Regions from separate parts of the Homo sapiens genome. Here region 2 is linked to region 1. The links are contacts of gene promoters, found by promoter capture Hi-C in blood cells and fetal thymus (Javierre and others, 2016). All regions are on one chromosome and are shown on one strand. Each heading gives the region's core, a stretch centred on a gene start or on the middle of the fragment in contact. The rest is flanking DNA. Distances are from core to core; before and after follow the strand shown.

What was found. Contacts are between HindIII fragments. The CHiCAGO score rates a contact against its expected background, and 5 or more counts as called.
Region 2: a contact is called between a fragment that was not itself captured here and the fragment with the promoter of PLEKHG6 in region 1, in 1 of 17 cell types (M1 macrophages). The highest score is 5.4, in M1 macrophages.

Annotation. Positions count from the first base shown.
Region 1 is chr12:6,304,801-6,311,931 of GRCh38, forward strand. It overlaps PLEKHG6 (pleckstrin homology and RhoGEF domain containing G6), which reads left to right and starts at 5,882. Exons shown (of 16, transcript NM_001384598.1): 1 at 5,882-6,048. RefSeq lists an enhancer at 4,696-5,416 and a silencer at 5,779-5,828. The HindIII fragment of the contact is 5,964 bases long and covers 1,011-6,974 here.
Region 2 is chr12:6,192,385-6,199,515 of GRCh38, forward strand. No RefSeq gene overlaps it. Among named protein-coding and RNA genes, the nearest start is that of CD9, 4.4 kb to the right of the region's middle. RefSeq lists a silencer at 1,712-1,761 and an enhancer at 6,888-7,131. The HindIII fragment of the contact is 278 bases long and covers 3,274-3,551 here.

The sequences.
Region 1 (7,131 bases), core at 4,632-7,131:
ACGCCTGTAATCTGAGCACTTTGGGAGGCCAACTCAGGAGGATCCCTTGAGGCCAGGAATTCAAGACAAACCTGGGCAGAGAGGGAGACCCCCTTCTCTACAAAAAATTAAAAATTAGCCAGGTTTGGTGGCACACACCTGTGGTCTCAGCTACTTGGGAGGCTGAGGTGGGAGGATCACTTGAGCCTAGGAGGTTGAGGCTGCAGTGAGCCATGATCGCACTACTGTACTCCCAGCCTGGATGACAGAGCAAGATGCTGTCTCTTAAAAAATTAATTAATTAATTAATTAAAGTTAGCTATTGTTATTATTGTAATGATCCAATGATTCCAAAATTTAGTTACTTTATCCTCATTTTACATACAAGGATGGAGATATAGACAAATCAAATCCAGCTGCCCCCAAAGCCCGATGAAGGGCTTCCCTATGAACCAAGACCCTGGCATGAGACAGAGATGGCTCCAAGCCTCTGAGCCCTGCACAGTGCATTTGTATTCTAAAAACAACAAACCAACAAGTGCAGGAGCAGTAAGGGAGGCAGAGATCCGTCATTTAGGCAGGCAGAAATGATTAATGCAAAATTAAGGTAGAAACCGACACAAAATGGGCTGGGCACAGTGGCTCATGCCTGTAATCCCAGCACTTTGGGAGGCGGAGGCAGGCCAATCACGAGGTCAGGAGATCGAGACCATCCTGGCCAACATGGTGAAACCCCGTCTCTACTAAAAACACAAAAATTAGCTGGGCATGGTGGCACGCTACTGTAGTTCCAGCTACTTGGGAGGCTGAGGCAGGAGAATCGCTTGAACCCGGGAGGCAGAGGTTGCAGTGAGCCGAGATTGCGCCACCACTACACTCCAGCCTGGCGACAGAGCAAGACTCCATCTCAAAAACAAACAAACAAACAAAAAGAAAAAGAAAAAAAAAAAGATTCCACAGCTCTTGGTCCAGCACCTTTTCCTCCTTCTCTACCCAGCCGACTACTACTCATCCCTCAAGTCCCAGCACAAAGCTTGCCTCCTCTAGAAGCCATCCCTAGCTCCCCTATGTAGTAACTGGTCCTTCCAAAGTGTTCCTGCAGCTCCCAGTTTATCCCTTCTATGTCTAACTTCCATATCAATATTCTGTTCACCCATCTGTTCATCCAGTGTTCTGTTCACTACAGGGCATGTTGGCATGTGCCTGTGGTCCCAGCTACTCGGGAGGCTGAGATGCGAGGATCACTGGAGCCTCGGAGGTCTGGGCTGCAGAGAGCTGTGATGGCGCTACTGCACTCCAGTCTGGTTGACAGAGTGAGACCCTGTCTCAAAAAAAGAAAAAAAATTCCACAGCCTCTCTGGGGCCGCATGTCAAAAGGGTGCCTCGGAGCACAGACCTGGACATCCAGACATCTGACTGGAAGATATGCCACCGTAAATCCCAAGAAGGTAGATCCACCCGATTGTCTTCTAGTCACCTTCGCCATCAGCTTCCAACAGAGGCAAAGGCCTTACATTCTCAGTGTCCCAGTCTTGGCTCAGTGCAAGACAAGTGACTGATAAACCTCACGCTAAGGCAGAAAGAGCCCTCTTTCCCCTGGGGCAGACATTGCTAAGCCATCTTAGCATTCTTTCTGCTGAGCCAGCCACAGAATCCTTCTTAAGTTAATGTTCCAGGAACCCACCACCTATCAGAATTAGCCCGCAATTCAGGATCTGAGAGAATCTGGAATTTTAAAAAAAGAAAAAGAGAAAAGAATTGGCCTGCAAGGTAAACTTACATGGTATGTTTGCCCTAATGGAGAGGAACATTTAGGTGCATCACAGATGTCCTGATGCTACAGTAATCAAGCAGGAAAGGAAACTGAAATTATGGAAGAATTCCAGGTATCTAAAAAGCAAATGTGGTTCCTTTGGGTAGGGACAGAACAGTACAGGCCAGTCTATCTGCAAGTCATTCTGTCTGGGTCCTCTAGCAAGTCAATCCAGTTCAATTCCCAAACACCATGCCAGTCTTGTGTTAGGCTGGTCTCTGCCCTCAGGCATAGGTGGCACATGCTAATATCAACTTAGTAGGGAGAACAAGAGTGGTGCCTTTTAAAGAAACATAGCGGTCAAGGCAGCTGCAAGCAGGGAGGAAAGTGATCAGCCTGGCTGCGGGATTATTAGGAAAGGCTTCGTGAAGGAGGCAGTCCTAGGAAAGACCTCGAAGGAGGTAAGTGGAGTCGGAGGACAAGGCACCCAGCTGAGGGGAACAGCTTGAGCAAAGGCATGGAGTCAGGAAAGTCGAGGCCGACCCAGGGAATGGGGACACATCTAGGGATTGAGTAGGGAAGTATAACTGAGGTCAAACTGCGGAGGTCCTGGAAGGCCACAAAGAAGGTTCGTCCTCCTAAGCCACCACCCAGAGACCCTCGGCTCGGAAGCTGGGATATTCCCAGGGAGCCAACAGGGTAGACCCTCAGGAGGCCTTTAGGGAAGTCTGCCCTTCCCCAGTTTCTTTTTAAACATGCTCTTCCCTCCTCCAGAAATGTCCTTTCCTCCTTCTCAGCCCAGCTGACTGCTACTCATCCTTCGAGTCCCAACACAAAGCTCGCCTCCTCTAGAAGCCATCCCTGGCTCCCCTATGTAGTAACCGGTCCCTCCAAAGTGTTCCCACAGCTCCTGACTTAGTCGTTCTTGGTCTAACTTAAATATCAATGTTCTTTTCGCCCATCTGCCTCCCCACTAGTCTGTAAGCCCCTAGAAGTCAGGGCCTCTTATTCTTTTCTATATTCCTACTGTCTTACACATTGCCAGTAAATGTGGAAGGAAGGGGGAGGGGACGAAAGAAGAAACGGGAAGCACCAGTTCTGGCCTGAGGCACCAGAGGCTTTGCCCTGTGGCCTGTCCTCCTGGTATTCATCTGCCTCACATGACCTGGCGCCTCCTAGCTTGAACCCTCAGTTTCTGCCTCGCTCTGGGCAGGGAGGACACAGCTCCCATTAGCTGCCTCCTGTTGCTAGTGCCTGCCAGCCCCTCATTAGCCCAGATGGTCCCCACTTCTGCCCTGAGAGATATGGGCTCAGCAGAGGTCGAGGCACAAATGAGTTTCCCTGACCTTCCTGCCTGGTGAGCCCCTTATGCCAACCCCAGGCAGTTATCCTCAGGCTGCTATTGGACAGAAGCATTTGATCCTCAGAGCTCTGACCGTGGACACACACTTTACCATCAGTTATGGGGTCAATCCAGGGGCCTAATGAGGAGCATCTTACCTGGGAGAAAGTGAGGCATATGACTCAAGCTAGACATGTGAGGAAAGGCTAGGATAACCAGGAATAAAGAGAAGTATCCAGATGGCATACTCTGGTCCAAGGACCAGATGGCCCCTAGCCTCACTTGGCAGAGGCCAAGCCTCCAGCCTCCCAATTCTTTACATTTCATTCAGCTCCCTGAGAATGCTCCCCTCAGCCTGCCATAGGAGTGTGCTCTCCGCAGCACAGAGGAGTCATGGAAGTGGAGACTGTGAGAGTGACAGAAGAGAAGAAACAGAACATGGAGGCCTGCCTCCTAGGCCACACACCTGTGCCCGGCCACACCTCTGGCTTCTAGACTCCAGCTTGCCCTGGGAACCTCTCCTCCCAGGGAGGCTGAAGACAGGCCCTGGGGCAGTAGTGGGTGGAGACTGGACCTCAACGCCTAGAGGGAAGTGAAAGGGTTAACCACCCCGCCACCCACCACCACCTGCCACTGGGCCCCTCTAGCCAGCTCACCCCAGAGCACTGTAAGCCCAGGCTTGTCTTTGGTGCTCTCTCAATTTCATCTTCCCTCTTATTCCTCCTTCCCACTCCTTCTGGGAGACACTGGGAGGAGAAGCTAGGGGCCATTGGCACCAGCTGTCTCTGGGGTGTCATTTAATACTGTCCGTAATCACCACCTCCTCTCCTGGCTTATTAACTCTTTCCCTCATGGCTACTCTTGTCATCCCTGGACATCTCTCTATCTCTGTCTAGCTCTCACCACACACACACACACACACACACACACACACACACACACACACACACACACACACAGTGAATGGGAAGAGGGAAGGGCTAGGAACTAGGCACACTCTGGTTTCTTGCCACTGCAGTTCCTTTCCCACCTGACTTCACCCCCGAAAACTAGTCCCACCACCAGCTGGGCCAGGAGCAGGAGACAGGCTGGTTCAAGGAGCTGGAGGAACAGAGGACACTTCTGAACCAGCAGAGCAATCACACAACAGCAAGCTCAGAGAAAGAGAATCCCAGAGGGCAGATTTGAGGATGGACACAGGGAATACAAAATTAGAAACTGCCCAAAGATATAGATTCCTCCTCCAAACAAAATAGAGTCACCAGAGTCCGAGTGAGGACTAGAACACTCTGATCATGTATGCGTTTCATAGCCTAGATGGGAAAAGGGAATAGAGGCCTTTTCCCCTGGCAACTCAAGGAGATTCTGCTTCTGAAAGTGTTTCCTGAACTTCAGGATGCTCTGAAGAAGTAAGGAGCCGTATCAATCACTGTTGAGTTCATTGGCAGGAAATAGACCACAGTCAGGGTGAGGGGCTGGGAGCCTCAGACCTGCCACCTGCCAACTACAGGGTCTTGGGTTTCATGGTTGTGAGATTATAATGACCACACATCCACAGGACACTTCTATCTCAAATATCCAGTGCTTCTGTCAGACGAGGTGCCATGATTTGGAGAAGTGAAAAGGTGGGGAAACCGAAGCAGGAGGATCGCTTGAACCCAGGAGTTGGAGTCCATCCTGGGCCACACAGCAAGATATTGTCTCTATTTTCTTTTTAAAAAATAAATTTTAAAAATAAAGAAAATAAAGTATGGTCCTTTCATGCAATGCCCAGCATGTGTCAGTCCTTCCACAGCATCTTTTTCTTTTTCTTTCTTTTTTTTTTTTTTTTTTTTTGAGATGGAGTTTCACTCTGTTGCCCAGGCTGGAGTGCAGTAGTGCTGTCTTGGCTCACTGCAACCTCCACCTCCCAGGTTCAAGCGATTCTCCCGCCTCAGCCTCCCAAGTAGCTGGGACTACAGGCGCCCGTCACCATGCCCAGCTAATTTTTGTATTTTTAGTAGAGTCGGGGTTTCACCATATTGGCCAGGCTGGTCTCCATCTCCCGACCTTGTGATCCGCCCGCCTCGGCCTCCCAAAGTGTTGGGATTACAGGCGTGAGCCATCGCGCCTGGCCCCACAGCATCTATTTTAGCAGCCACCGCAAGGGCTGGGTGACCCTGGTGTAGCCGGGAGTGGGCTTATTTGCAGGTGAACTGGGAGGGTGCCCCCACCTGAGTCTTAGGTCATAGGAGAAGTGCGGGTCAGGCCTCAGCTGCCTATCCCTGGAGCAAAGGCAAAGTCCAGGATAGCCTTCCAGTATCACCTTCCACCAGGCAGGCCAGCCGGTCCTCTGAGAGATAAGGCTCACACTTTGGACTCCACACAGCGACGGGGCCCCCTGCCCCTCCAGCTGGCAGGCGGGCTCCCTGCCTGCTTAGGGGTCTAGGCCGAGGCAGGGGGAGGACCGGACGGCCGGCCACTCGCCGCGACCAGCAGGAGAGAGGGGTGCCTGCCACAGGTTGTCACCCTCGCCGCCTCCCCCGGCGGCGCCCCGCCCCTTACTCAGCCCTCATTACTGCAGCGCCTCGCGGGGGTCTGGCCCGGAGTGGAGGGCGCGCGGTCCCAGCCCTCCCGCTCGGCCGGCGGGTGTCGAGTTCAGGTGCGACCGAAAAGGGGAAAGGAGGGCACCGCCACGTGAGCTGTCCTCTCCGGGGAAGGCGGTGGCTGCGTGAGGGCGGGGGCTGCTCGGTCCCCAGGGCCCCGCCCCTCTGCCCCTCTGCCCCGAGCGGTGCTGGCGGTAGGGAGGGGCCAGCCCGGTCCCCGCCCTCCTCGCCCGGACCCGCGCTGCCCGGCTCCCGCGGGCCGCTCGATCCCAGTCCCAGGCTGGGCATCGGGGCTGGCTGGCATCGCCGGGGAGCCGACGGCGACGGGGAGCCCCGCGGGCGGGGAGGGCGGCGCAGGGCAGCGGGTGCGGTGACACCTGTGGGCACAGGTGAGCGGCGGGAGGGCTACGCGGCCCGGGGGCGGGGCGGCCGGGACCCGGGGCCTGGAAGCCGGGGCGAAGGGGAAGGAAGGCCTGGCCTCCCGAAGGCGGGAGGAGGGGAGCCGGGGGCTGGGCTGAGACAGGACCCTGGGTAGGGAGCAGTGCGAGGGAGACAGCGCCCTCAGAGGGAGGACTATTGGGAGGCGGCAGGAGGGACAGCGAACGTTTCCTCCTCTGCTCCTGAATCGGAGGAAGGTAAGGGAGGGCTGAGGCAGGACCTCAGGCCCACCCGGTCGGGGCACAAACACCTGCGCAGCCTTCTTGAGCCCACCGCCCCTTAGGAGGCCTCTCCTCTTCCAGGCCCTGCCCACTCGAGGGCGGGCCCTCCCTCCAGGTTTAGGGGGGAGGGATGGAGCCCCACGCCTGGCCCCCAGCTCCATGGTGGTATTCCCAGAGTCTGGGGAGGACCAAATATATAGCCCGAAACTGGAGAAACTCTAATTCTATTTGGCTGGTCTCTAAGGGCAGTGGCCGGACAGCTGGCCCCACTCACCTCCCTGTCTGTGGTCAGGAGGGTTCAGGTAGGAGATGGGCAAGCCTTTCAGTAAAGGCCAGACAGTAAAGATTAGAGACTTCGCGGCCTACACCGTCTGTCCCAACTAGCAAGAAGCAGTCACAGGTTATTAGGAGACCAGCAGAAGAGGATGGATTCCAACAAAACTGTGTTTATGGACACTGAATTTGAATATCATGTAATATTTACTTGTCCCAAAATATTGGTGGCTTTTTTGCAGGGGGGGCAGCAGTTGTTTCAACTATGTAAATATGTAAAGGCTTACAGGCTGTACAAAAACTGGTGGCAGACTGGGCTGTCTCCAGCCACCCCCACTCCCAGCCCACCCCACCCACCATGGCCTCCCTCCAGCTTTTTCCCAAGCTTTATATGGGGAAGGGGATGGGGTTATATCTAGGTGCAAGGAGAACCCTCCCACCTGGGTGTATCCAGAAAGCCCGAGACCTGTCTGTGACCCTTGTTCCCATTTGAGACCAGTGCAGGAGCTTGTACCCCAAATATGCACACATGTGAGAGAG
Region 2 (7,131 bases), core at 2,163-4,662, 110 kb before region 1:
CCTGCCACCACGCTCAGCTAATCTTTTTTTTTTTTTTTTTTCTGAGACGGAGTCTCGCTCTGTCGCCCAGGCTGGAGTGCAGCGGTGTGATCTCAGCTCACTGCAAGCTCTGCCTCCCGGGTTCACGCCATTCTCCTGCCTCAGCCTCCCTAGTAGCTGGGACTACAGGCGCCCGCCACCACGCCTGGCTAATTTTTTGTATTTTTAGTAGAGACAGGGTTTCACTGTGTTAGCCAGGATGATCTCGATCTCCTGACCTCGTGATCCGCCCGCCTCAGCCTCCCACAGTGCTGAGATGATAGGCGTGAGCCACCGCGCCCGGCCGCCCAGCCAACTCTTTTAAACAGATGCATGAAACCTGAAATTATCACCCAGGACAAATCTTGTAAGAGTCTAGTGGATGATTCAGAAAGAAGTTGCTACAGGAGTGTCCTGAGAAAGAGGATCAGAGCAGACTAAGATGACTGAGGGTGCTGGGGAAGGCAGGGGCTGGGCTGGCCTCAGAGATGGTGCAGGCTGCTTGAAGGGCAGAAAGGAGGAAGTGCCAAGAGCTTGGGCTTCGGAAAGAAGAGGTGGGGACCCAGGCATAGAGCTGGGGATGCATGTGGTATTCCAAAAGAGTGAACAGATTTGCAAACAGAGGTTAAGGCGAGAGAGCAGAGGGCCTGTATGATGATCTTACAATTGAGACATCGGCTTTCCATACATTCAATAAATATTGTGCACCTACTGTATGTCAGGCACTGTTCAAAGCCCTTGGGATACATAGAGAACAGAACAGCCATGCGGATTTTGCATTCTAGCTGGAGGAGACAGGTAAATAGCAATGCACATACCAAGGAAACATTCCACTCTGTGAGAAGGTAAATGCTATGGGAGCATTGTTTGGAAGTAGAACAGGGGTAAGGGGAGTTGGGAGATCTTTGAGCAGGAAAGAGTAAAGCTGAGCTTCAGGAGTCTGATGAAAGGATGATATTAAATATTGCTTGTTTAGAATTGCTCCCCGCCTGCCCCCAACCCCCATATACTAAGGAGGACAGACCCTGAGAGCCATGATTTGTTTTGCTGAGCAGGGTGAGGGGAGGTGGGGACACAAACGGAAAATGCCAAGTTTAGAGCTAAATTGCTCCACACAGACATATGCAGAGGACATCCACAGGGCAGGGGGCTGGCTGAGGCTGGGCTGGGGGGCAGATGATAGGGGTGGCTGCCACAGATTGGACGTTTGAGAAGAGCTATCCAGAGGGATTCTTAGAATGGTTCTCTCTGGCATATGAGAGGGAACCCCTCATCCACCTATCCGTGAAACCTTCATAAAATCCACACTGGACATAGGCAGTTTCCAGGTTGAGTGTGTGTGTGCTTAATGCAAGGAAAAGAAGTGATGGGTGAGAGGAGGGCAGCCCACCCCCAAGGACGCACGCAGCAAGACTCTCTGGGTCCAATGTTGTGTCCATCCTGGGCAGGTGAACAGCAGCGAGGCAGGGCAAGGGTAGAACAGCCGTTTGGGCTGCAGATGAGCTTCCAGGATGCAGCCCCCTTGCGGATGGCAGGGCATCAGGGGGAACAAAAGATCAGGATCCAACCCTGGACTGAAACCAGAAGCTCTGAGGTCTGATCTGTGCTCTGCCACTCAATCACTACAACCCGCCTTAGCCCTGGTGCCTCCCAGCAATGACGTAAGAACAGCTAAGAAACAGGAATCACATTCACTAAGCAGCTGTGAGGCTGGGGGAAGGAGGAGCCCCAGGTGATGGGAGGTGTTGGTGCTGACTGATTAGAGACAGGGAGGGCTGAGGAGAAAGTCAGCTGCGAGCCTAGAAAGCCCTTGGAGATTATGAATTCTGATCTTGATGTTTACATTGAGATTACTATATTTCCTATTGCTTCGGTAACAACCACAAATTTAGTGGCTTAAAGTAACACATATTTACTATTTCACAATTCTAGAGGTCTGAAATCTAAAATGGGTGGGCAGGGCTGTGTTGGATCCCTCTGGCAGCTGCAGGGGAGAATTCGTTTCTTCGCCTTCTCCAGCTTCTAGAGGCTGTCCTTGTTCCCCAACACACAGCTGTGCATCACTGCGACCTCTGCTTCTGTCGTCACATCTCCTTCCCTGGCTTTGACACTTCCACCTGTCTCTTATAAGAACCCTTTGGATTCCACTGGGCCCACTGGGATGGTCCAGGCTATGCCATGGAAAGTAACACATTCACAGTTTTGGGGATTGGAACGTGGGCCTATTTGGAGGGCCGTTAGAAGTGGAAACGGGCCAGGCACGGTGGCGCACGCCTGTAATCCCAGCACTTTGGGAGGCTGAGGTGGGCGGATCACCTGGGGCCAGGAGTTCAAGACCAGCCTGACCAACAGGAGGAAACCCCATCTCTACTAAAAATATAAAAAATATAAAAAATATAAAAAACACGGTGGCTTACGCCTGTAATCCCAGCACTTTGGGAGGCTGAGGTGGGTAGATAACGAATTCAGGAGTTCAAGACCAGCCTGGCCAATATGGTGAAACCCCGTCTCTACTAAAAATACAAAAATTAGCTGGGCATGGTGGTGTGCGCCTGTAGTCCCAGCTACTTGGGAGGCTGAGGCAGAAGAATCACTTGAACCCGGGAGGCAGAGGTTGCAGTGAGCCAAGATCGTGCCACTGCACTCCAGCCTGGGTGACAAAGCGAGACTCCGTCTAAAAAAAAAAAAATTATTAGCCGGGCATGGCAGCGCACACCTGTAATTCAATCTGCTTGGGAGGCTGAGGCAAGAGAGTCTCTTGAGCCCAGGGATGGAGGTTGTAGTGAGCCGAGATTGAGCCACTGCACTCCAGCCTGGGCAACAGAGCGAGACTTGGTCTCAAAAAAAAAAAATCTGCAGGCTCTTGGATATCAGGACTTGCATTTACAGAGAGATGAGTTAAACAGAGAAAATGGTGGAAGGCACAAAAGGGGATGAGTGCTCCAGGAGAGGTCTGAGAGAGAAGGGCAGGGGCCTGAGAAAGCCCCACGCCCAGCCGTCATTCTGCAGATGTTTGCAGAGGGCCTGCTCTGGGCCAGGAAGGGACCGGGAGCTAGGGAGAGCACAGAAATTAATCAAATGCAAGTGCACCCTCGAGGAGCTCACTACCAAGAAGTGGACACATAAAGGAAGATGATGATGACCAGAGAATCACACATGCGAGACTCAAGGTAATCCACGGAGAAAAAGACTGGAGTGCTCCAGGAAGGCTTCATAAGGTGGTGTATTTGAGCTTAGAAAGAGGAACAGGAGAGAAGCTTCTAGAAGTGAAGGAGGTGAATCAAGATGGCCACTGGTGTGGTGGCTGGAAGGGCCTTGGTGGCCTGTGAGAGCGAGGGTCCTACCTGTTGCCTTACAAAGCCATTGCCCACAGCTGGAGGGACCTGGGGCATGGGTGTGACGGCTCATTAGGTCACCTGGCCTCTGCGTGTTCAAATCTTACCACCAGGGGGGGCACAAGAGCCAAAGTGGACCCTGAGCCTGAGCTGGGGTTTCTTTCCCAGAGACAGGACGCCTTGAGGGAAGGGAGGAAAAGCTTTCCCACTCCAGCACCACAAAGCCTGGAAGGCCTGGCTGCTTCCATGTGATTTCTGACTCAGGGGCTTACCCATATTTTCCTCTTCCGGTTAAGGCAAAACATAATTTTTCCATCGCTCACCTTCCTGGTTGCCTGTAGCACTAACTGTCTGTAACAAATGCACTTTGGCCCAGGGGTTTATTGTGACACAGAATGTCAGGAGGAATGAAAGACACCTCCTGATCCAAAATGCTGTGAACCAAAAAGTATCTGAGACAGGTCTCAATCAATTTAGAAAGTTTATTTTGCCAAGGTTACAGATGGGCGCCCAGGAGGCAGATCTGTGCCTTCTGCAAAGATGATTTTGAGGGCTTCAATATTTAAAAGGCGGCTGGTGGGGAAAGAGGAAGAAAGTTTTTTTAAGGTGTGGGTAGGTAAGAAACAAACGGTTGCATTCTTTTGAGTCACTGATCATCCTCTCACTGAATGCACAATTTACATGGCAGAGGAGGGTAGAGAAATAAGTCACTTATGCCTTGTCTAGCACAGCGAATCTTCATTTTTACATTGGAGGAAGCAATCAGATATGCATTTGTCTCAGGTGAGCAGAGGGATGACTTTGAGTTCTGTCCTTTTTTCTGTACCTGTGAAGATATGCTATCAATTTACATTGTCATGGTGAAATTCAACAGAACTGTTTTAGGGCAAATATCATAGGGTCCACCAGAAATTTCCTCATGGGCAAATTGTGAAAGAAGTGCATAGCTGCTTTTTTTTTTTTTTTTTTTTTTGAGACGGAGTCTGGCTGTGTCCCCCAGGCTGGAGGGCAGTGGCGCGATCTCGGCTCACTGCAAGCTCTGCCTCCCGGGTTCACGCCATTCTCCTGCCTCAGCCTCCTGAGTAGCTGGGACTACAGGCGCCCGCCGCCACGCCCGGCTAATTTTTTTGTATTTTTAGTAGAGACGAGGTTTCACCGTGTTAGCCAGGATGGTCTTGATCTCCTGACCTCATGATCCTCCCGCGTCGGCCTCCTAAAGTGCTTGGATCACAGGTGTGAGTCACAGCGCCCAACAAGAAGTGCATAGCTTTTTTTGTTTTTTCTTTTTGAGACGGAGTCTCACTCTGTCGCCAGGCTAGAGTGCTGTGGCGCGATCTCGGCTCACTGCAACCTCCAACTCCCTGGTTCAAGGGATTCTCCTGCCTCTGCCTCCCGAGTAGCTGGGATTATAGGTATGCGCCACCATGCCTGGCTAATTTTTGTATTTTTAGTAGAGATGCGGTTTCACTATGTTGGCCAGGATGGTCTCGATCTCCTCACCTCGTGATCCGCCCACCTTGGCCTCCCAAAGTGCTGGGATTACAGGCGTGAGCCACTGCGCCCGGCCGAGAAGTGCATAGCTTTTTAAAAAATCTTTGTAGCTATCTTATTTAGGAATGGGAGGCAGGTTTGCCTGTGGCAGTTCCCAGCTTGATTTTTTCCTTTGGCTTATTGATTTTGGGGTCCTAAGATTTATTTTCCTTTCACAATACTCTTGTACAGGTGAGGAGACTGAGGCCCAGAGAGGAGGCTGCCTGCCTAACATAGACCAAAGGGTCAGAACCAAGAGTAGAACTCAGACCCCCTCACTTCAGGCCCAATGCTCTCATCACATAAAAAGGATGCCTTGATTATACGAATGTGGCACTGAACTATATAGGCTGACCCCAATTCTTTCTTCAGTGTAAACAATAATAGGAATAGGAGCAACAGGCAGCGTTTCTGCAGCGCTTCTGTGGCAGGCAGGTTCTAAGGCCTCCCTGTGGATTTCCTCTGTCAACACTCACGTTTACCCTAATAAGTAATTTCTATTATAAACTTAAATATTTACTGAACTCCTCCCACCAGTACTTGTTAACTTGGGAGAAGGGGGAGATGCAATAAAATCTTTCTTTTCCTAAGACCTGTCTCCCAAGATAGATGGACGCAGGCCCAAAAGGGCACAATGGAACACTGACTGTTTTCCGGCCTCCTTCCCACCCTCCAGGGTGCTTCACACTCCTCCCCTGTGCTGGAATCATCCTGGACACTGGTTAGGATGTGTAAAGTCAAGCATCACCAAAATTCCTCTGCTTGTCCTCTTGGCATTAGGCTCAGTTTAGGCCCTGCCTCTCCTTCCTTGTCCTCCTTCCTCCCCATGTACCACTATCGGTTGTTTCCCCAGTGCAGCCAGCTGCCCGCTTCTGTGTCTTTGCATATCCAGTTCCCTCTTGGAATTCCCTCCTCCGCATTGACTACTGACTCCACCTTCCCAAGTCAAGTCAGCTGCTGCAATGTCCCCTGCTCTGGGGAGCCTCTCGGACTCAGATTGACGTGGGGATGTGCCCTGTGCCCCTACTTGTTACTAGCTTCTGCTGCTCTGCCTCTGATCTCTCCCTCCCCTTCCCGGCCTGACACCTCATGGGGTTTTGCCCTGCCTTCTCTAGGCTTTATCCCATTGCCCCGCCTTCATTCATTCTTCTCTCACCTGAACTACTCCACAGCCTCCTAGCAGATTTGCACCTGGTCCTCAGCTCAACTTTCATCTACCACTGCTCCCCTCATATTACCTGATTGCGTCTCCCCAAATACAACATCTCCATGTTCCATGCAATCCCGTAAAGCACTGAGCCAAGGACTGGAGATGCCAACAATGGTCCTGGTCCTCAAGGGGCTTCCTACCTGCCCCTCCGGCCTTCCCCCACCCAACTACCTAAAACACAGGCAGAGAACCTCTGAAAACACAGCAGATCCAACCATTCCCCTGCTTGAACCTTTCGGTGGCCCCTAATGCTCAGAGTGCAAAGTCCAGGAGCACAAGGCTCTTTCTCACCTTCCCACAAACTACCCCGTGACTCCAGGCTCCAGCCCAGAGCCCGGACAGCCCCTGCCCCAGCCTTTGCCCAGGATTCTCCCTTGGCGGCAACTTTCCCTGTGGTTCTGCAGCATCATCTCCCAGTCTGGGTCAGAGGCCTCTCCTTAGCCTCTTAGCCCCCAAGCCTCTCCCCGTAACTGCACCTATCACCCTCAAACCATTGTCTGGCTGCCTGTCTCCTCCCACACTGGTCCCTGAGCAGAAACAAGGACTAATCCATGTTTTTCAGCTCCTACCCCTAATGAAATACCCTAATAGATACTGAAAAATGTTTTTGAACCAATGAGACAAGTCTACTGATAATAAACAGGCAAATAACAGCAATGTGCTAACAGTGGCTGTTTCTGGTGAGCAGAATTTTGAGGTCTGTTCCTTTCACTTCTTGGTATTTCGGTTGTTTCTGTAATGACTGTATCTTGCTTTTGTAATCATAAAGGACAGTAAAGGAAACTTCATTTTGAAAATAATACAAAGGGATTCGGGGACTTCAAAAGAAGGTGACTCTCCTCGTCCACTCCAGAGAATCAGGAAAGGAGTGTTTAAAGACCCACAGAATTCCTACAAGTGACGTTGGGGGGGGGCCAGCCAGCCAGGGCGCATGCCGGCCAGCGAGTGGGGTGGGCTCTGGGTCCGGGAGAAGTCAGATCAGTGCTCTGTACAGGGCCTTGAGGGCAAGACGAGGAATTTCGACTTAGGTCCTTGAAT